Regions from separate parts of the Homo sapiens genome. Here region 1 is linked to region 2. The links are contacts of gene promoters, found by promoter capture Hi-C in blood cells and fetal thymus (Javierre and others, 2016). All regions are on one chromosome and are shown on one strand. The core of a region is centred on a gene start or on the middle of the fragment in contact, and the rest is flanking DNA. Distances in the headings are between cores, read along the strand shown. Region 1 has its middle 12 kb from the start of GRB7. Region 2 holds the start of NEUROD2 (neuronal differentiation 2).

Region 1 (3,072 bases), core at 300-2,799, 140 kb before region 2:
CTTACCCAGGGGTTCCACTGTGAGCTGGCCCTGAGAGGGTCCCTGTGCCCCCAAACTCTTAGCAGCTACGTCTCCAAAAAGCCAGAAATCTCAGACACTCACCAAGAATGGGCTGCTGCTGGTCTCAGGTGGCCAGATCAGGGCCAAATGCTGCCCCCTCTAAGGGCTCTCGGCAGCCTAGGTCCCTCACTGTGGCCAGCACTGAGAAGGGAGGGGGCAGAGAACAAAGGCTAGAGCAGGGCAGGGCTGCATTTCACCACCTGTCCAGTGGGCTGAGTCTGGCCTCTGTCCCGAACTCCCTCTGCGACCCCTGTCGCAGGTGAGTCCCTGTCTTTCCCTGAGCCTCAGTTTCCCATTTGTAAAGTGGGAAGGACATCTGTCTCACAGTCTCCAATTAGCTGATTGACAGAGAGGCTTTGTCTCTGCCCAGTGCCTCAGGCTGTGAAGGGACACTGGGTCCTCTTTTTTTACAGTCTGAACCCCTGGACATGCTGAAGAGGTGACTCATCTTGACCCCTTTACTCTCACTCCAGCCTGGAACTCTGGCACCCACACCTCGGAGGTGGCCCTGGGCACCCATGGCCAGCCACACAGCTGACACTGCCCTGTTCGGTGCTCGAGCCACAGCCTGTGGTGGGGATGGCTCTGGGAACCGTGGCAGGTGGCAGGCAGCAGGTTGCACTGGGTCCTGCCTCCAGTCCTGCTAAAAAGAAGCAAAATCTGCCACCCTTCCTGCCCTTGGGCTGCAGTAAGTTCTTCCAGCAGATTCCCAGGAGGTCCCAGGCTGGGGTGTGCATGAGACCTCTCTGCCCACCTCTGTCTGCTGGACCTGGTCCCAGCTTCCCAGCCTGGAGTTAGCCAAGGATGGGGGTGCCTTGGTCGGGAGTGGCTGCCAGGGCTGCCAGACCCAGCCCAGGGGCTGATTGCAGAGGCTGCACAGTCTCAAGGTCACCTCAGGACAACCCTCCAGGCCAGAGACCAAGGCTGCAGGGAAGGGAGGGGCTCTCTAAGGGAGGACCCCAGTAGGCCACTATTGCTGTCACTGTGGCTGAGGAATGCCACCTGGACGTCAGCCAGACAGGGGAAGCAGAACATGCCCAGACCTGGTCCTCAGACCTGGGTTGGAATCTTGGCTCTCCCACTGTGATCTGGGGCCAGGCTGCCCACTGGGCCGTCAGTTTCCTCACCTACAAAACAGCGTCTCACCACCTCCTGCCCAGTCAGTCCCAAAGATTTGAGAAGGGGCTCTCCATTAAAATATATCAATATATAATAGAATATCCAAGCATATACAAAGGTGGAGAGGATAATTTAACAAATCCCCACATAGCCAGTACCTGTCACCAAGCTTCAACCAATATCAACAGCCAGTGTCAACTCATGGCCACACCATGACTATGCCCACACCCTCTCCTTTAACCTCTGGATTTCATTTTTTTCTTTTTATTTTTTGAGACAAGGTCATGTTCTGTGGCCCAGGCTGGAGTGCAGAGATGCAATCATGGCTCACACCAGCCTTGACTTCCTGGGCTCAAACGATCCTTTCACCCCAGCCTCCCAGGTAGCTGGGACCACAGATGCATGTCACCACACCTGGCTAATTTTTTATTTTTTATTTTTGTAGAGAGGGCCTCACTATGTTGCCCAGGCTGGTCTCAAACTCCTCCCACCTCAGCTCCCAAAGTACTGGGATTACAGGCATGACCCACTGTGCCTGGCCACCTCTGGGTTATTTTAAAAACAAAGCTTCAGCATTACTCAATATACCCAGGTAATAAACCTGCACATGTACTCCCTGAATCTAAAATAAAAGTTGGAAAAAAAAAAAAGAAAAGGAATAAAAACAAAGCTGAGACATCATGTGATTTCACCTTTAAATACTTCATAATGAATTTCTTAAAGATAAAGATTTAGAAAAAACCGTAACTGCAATACCATTATTACACCTTAGAAAGTTAGCCATAATCCCTTAATATCATCGAATATCTGATCAGAATTCAAATTTCCCCCAATTGCTCATAAATGCTTTTTACAGTTAGTTTGCATTTGAATCAAAGGTCAACACATCATTTGGTTGATATATGTCTAAATTTCTTGAAATCTAGAGATTGCCCATCTTTTCTGGTAATTTTGTTGCTGTTGAAGAAGAAACTGGGTTATCTGTTCTGTAGAATTTCCCAATCTGGATTTTTGTCATTGTTTCCCTTGTATTTCCCGTAAACTAGTTGTTGAATCCAAGGAATCAGATTCAGGTTTGGTGTTTTGACAAAAACAATGACTAGTTGGGGTTCACAGGTCTGCAGGAGGGTCTGTCTCCTGAGTTAAGCAGCAAGTTCAGATGCAGTCGATCTGACATATTTATTAAAGAGCTCCCATCAGGTAAGAGCTCAAACTAAAAAACTCTTAGACAAGGCCAGGCGCAGTGGCTTGGGTGTGTAATCCCAGCACTTTGGGAGGCCAAGGTGAGTGGATCACTTGAGGTCAGGAGTTCAAGGCCAGGCTGGCCAACATGGTGAAACCCCGTCTCTACCACAAATACAAAAAATTAGCCAGGCGTGGTGGCAAGCGCCTGTAATCCCAGTTACTTGGGAGGATGAGGCAAGAGAATCGCTTGAACCCAGGAGAAGGAGGTTGTAGTGAGCTGAGATCGTGCCACTGCATTCCAGCTTGCGCAACAGAGTGAGACTCCATCTCAAAAAACAAAACAAAAAAACCTCTAAGACAAAAACATAGACTGGCATGAGCAGTGGGCAGAGGCCAGACATCTGTCTTTTTTTTTAAGACTGAGTCTTGCTCTTGTTGCCCAGGCTGGAGTGCAATGGCATGATCTTGGCTCACTGCAACCTCTGCCTCCCCGGTTCAAGCTATTCTCCTGCCTCAGCCTCCCTAGTAGCTGGGATTACAGGTGCCCGCCACCATGCCCAGCTAATTTTTGTATTTTTAGTAGAGATGGGGTTTTGCCATGTTGGCCAGGCTGGTCTCAAACTCCTGACCTCGTGATCCGCCCGCCTCGGCCTCCCAAAGTGCTGGGATTACAGGTGTGAGCCACAGTGCCCTGCCGGGAGTGGTGAA
Region 2 (3,422 bases), core at 723-3,222:
CCTTGCAGACCCAGGATTCGTGAATGAAGGGAAGCATGGTAGGCTTATTTTTAGAGACCACTGAGGCAGATTGTGGGCTTATAAGTGGAGTACTGGTCTGTGGGTCAAGTGCCTGAATTCTAGGCCCAGTTCTGTGTTTCCCCTGTGTGTTCCTAGGCAGGTCAGTTTCCCTCCATGGGCCTCTGTAAGATGAGGAGTTGGAGAGGTACATTCTCAGGCTACTTTCAACTCCCAGCCAAGTGACTCAAGAGTCCCAGGCAGCACCAGCACCCCTATCTCCAAGGCCTCCTGATGTGTGTCTCTATTTAGAACTTAATCCAACCTACCCAACATCAGATCAGTGTCTTACCAGCCCAAGGTCCCTGGGGAGCCTCCTAGAGGGAGAGAGCCCTGCCCACCCAGATTGAGGGTAAAGGCCTCCCCGTGCTCATTTTTGTACCACCACAGTGCTTGGCACATGGTAGACATCAAAATGTGTGTGCTGAAAGTATAATTGAAGTTGTGTATATATGTCAGCTAGAGTGTCTGGAGGGGCAGAAATGTGGGTCTAAAACATACAAATGCTCCAAATGGGGTGTGGGCAAGGGTCTGTCTACACCAGGCTGTGATTACCTGCTCACATACATGTGTCTATCTGAGTAGGGGTATGTTATCTATTTTTCTACACCACAGGGTGAGGAACAGGTATATGTGTGCATGTGTATGCATCCGTGTGTGTGTGTATGTGTGTGTGCATGAGTGTGTGTGTGTGTGTCCAAAGCCACCTCTTCAACCTGTGCCATTTGTATCTGTGTCTGGCCCAATGAGAGTGTTGAAAGGTGAGCCACAAGATAAAACAGCAACTTCCTACCTCCCTTATCAAGACAGCTGTCTGACCTACCTCCCCTTGGCCACTCTTGGGATTACTGGGGTTGGCTTCAGTATTTTCAGATTTTTCAGAAGGGGAGGAGAATGCTTGAGTCTCATCCAGGAACTTAGGCAGTTCTCAGCACTGCCTGCTCCTCCTCCCTCAAATAACCAAGTCTGAAGACCAGGAGAGAAAGCCGCTGGTGGACTGGTCACCTGTCTGGCAGTGGGAGGAGGAGAGTGAGAGGTTTCTAGGTTAGGAATCCAGACTTAGACCCTCCCCTCCACCCCCAGATGGGTGGTGCACAGGCTCATCTCGCGGCCCCTCCCCACTCCACCCTAACATGGATACGCCCCCAACAACCAAGGAAAGATCTCCCATCGGCTGACTCCACAGATACACACATGTCCCCACAGACACACACACGCCCATGCAGAGGCACAGACATCCAGGCACATCTTTCCCTTTCTCTGTCTTTCCCTTGGTTTGAATTTCGTTTAGCCACATATGTTGTGTGTGCGTGAGGGTGGGTGGGGGAGGGGCAGACAGGGATGAGGGATGGCATGGTGCCAACATCTACCTATGGGGCTCGGGCCAGGGACGCCCCTTACAGCCATCCTGGGAGGGGGTCTCAGCTGTCCCTTTGTGGCCAAGGGGACCCTCCTGGGGAGTGGGGGCAAGCACAGAGGTCCTTTCTCCCCAACCCGGGGTCTGGTCCCTGACCCACCTTGGGGGCCTGCAGGGGAGGAAATGGACAGAGCGGGACCCTGAGGGAGCATAGAATTGGCCACCACGAGCCCCCAGTGTCCAGCCTTGCCACCCCATTGTTCCCGTGAGGGGGTCTCTATATACAGGGGGCAACTCCTCCCACCTTCCTCTCAATCCCTGCTTTCCCTGCGTTGGGCGGGGAGGGGAGGGCGGCAGAAATATTTATTTATTTCCTTTATTTATTTAATTTTTTTTTTTTTTTTTGGAGTAGAGAGTGACAGATGGCGGCGGGTCCCGGGGGAGCCGGCTCTCCCCCAGTGCAGACGCATGCCAATCACCGTCTCTCATGTGATAGCTGCTGCCCGTGACGTGCCAAGCCCATATGGCCTGGCATAGAGGCTGGTACCCCGCCTGGTAGAGATGCCACACTCGCTCCGCGGTTCGCATGGCGCTCTGAAGACGCCGGCGCCCGCCGCCTTGAGGAGCCGCTGCCCCCGCTCCCTGAAGATGGGGGAACAATGAAATAAGCGAGAAGATCCCTCTTCTCCCCCCTCTCTCTCTTGCCCCCTCCCCCCCTCCCCTCCCCTCTCCCCTTGACTCCTCTCCGAGGTAAGTTGTCCGAAAGGGAGCGAGATCTGACCCGCCGGTTGGGAGGAGGGGCGGCAGCTTCGGCCGACAGGAGGGTCCTCAAATACCTCCTTCCTGGGATGATGCCCCCCTCATTGGGTGGGCATCGGAGGGGCCCCAGGTTCTCTCTCCCTTAGGGGCTGCAGCCCAGGGGGCTGCAGAGGAGGTGTCTCTGCCTGCGATGGGCTCGGTGGGGGGGGAAGGCAGGATCACGGAGGGGGATATGCGAAGAGGCCGAGACGGAGGACCCCTCCATGGTTGTCCCAAAAAGCCTGCCACCTTTCCCCACCACCGAAAAAAGGGAAGCAAACAAACAAATTTGGATTTTTCCCCCATCAATCCCAAAATACAACGAGATCTGAAGAGCCTTGTGGGAGGGAGTCAGCTTGAAGGGGGAAGGGGGTCCCTGACCGCAGAGGGGACGGACTGGGCTCGCTTCTCTCAGTCTCCTCCCCACGCCCCGCTGCTTCAGTCCTCGCCGCCCAGAGCCGGCTCCGGGAGCTGGGGACGCATCGGCTAGAGGAGACGATCCTCCCGCCTCTGGAATTGGGGGTGCGGGGGTGGGGGCCGAGCAAGGGGCGGCGCGCAGCCAAGTTGCAAATTGGATTAGGGAGCGTGGGGGTGAGAGCCACGGGAGGGGTGAGGGAGCTGGGCCGGGGGGCCCGGGCCGCGAGAGCGCGGAGCGGGGCAGCTGTCCCCACCGGCGGCCGACCAGCCTCTCTCCACCGCCAGGAGAGAACGGGCTTTCAGGGCGAGCGCGCCGCCTCCCCTGGCAAAGATATCTGGTCCCTAAAACCCCCACCCGGTCCCTGCCCTGACCCTGAGAAGAAGCAGGCGCGGGGAGCAGCCCCCCATTCAAGCGAGGGGCGGAGCCGGGGCCCAGCGCCGGGGAGAGGGCCTGGGCCGAGATCCCAGGCCGGCAGCCGGGTAGGGCTGGGCCGGCTCTGGGCGGGGCAGGCGGCGGAGGTGGGCATCCAGGGTAGCCTAGGCAGGAGCCCGCACGAGACTCGGGGGTGGAGGAGGGTTGTGGGGGGGCGTCGGTACCCCAGCGCGCCCCTCACTTTGTGCTGTCTGTCTCCCCTTCCCGCCCGCGGGGCGCCCTCAGGCACCATGCTGACCCGCCTGTTCAGCGAGCCCGGCCTTCTCTCGGACGTGCCCAAGTTCGCCAGCTGGGGCGACGGCGAAGACGACGAGCCGAGGAGCGACAAGGGCGACGCGCCGCCACCGCCACCGCCTGCGC

The links. The method cuts DNA at HindIII sites, captures the fragments that hold promoters and counts their contacts. A CHiCAGO score of 5 or more calls a contact.
Region 1: a fragment that was not itself captured here is called in contact with the fragment with the promoter of NEUROD2 in region 2 in 16 of 17 cell types (naive CD8 T cells, naive CD4 T cells, total CD8 T cells and 13 more); the score reaches 13.0 in naive CD8 T cells.

The regions. Positions count from the first base shown.
Region 1 is chr17:39,748,216-39,751,287 of GRCh38, reverse strand. No RefSeq gene overlaps it. Among named protein-coding and RNA genes, the nearest start is that of GRB7, 12 kb to the right of the region's middle. The HindIII fragment of the contact is 398 bases long and covers 1,351-1,748 here.
Region 2 is chr17:39,606,470-39,609,891 of GRCh38, reverse strand. NEUROD2 (neuronal differentiation 2) reads left to right here and starts at 1,972. Exons shown (of 2, transcript NM_006160.4): 1 at 1,972-2,164; 2 at 3,288-3,422. The coding sequence starts at 3,293. The HindIII fragment of the contact is 7,147 bases long and covers 1-3,422 here.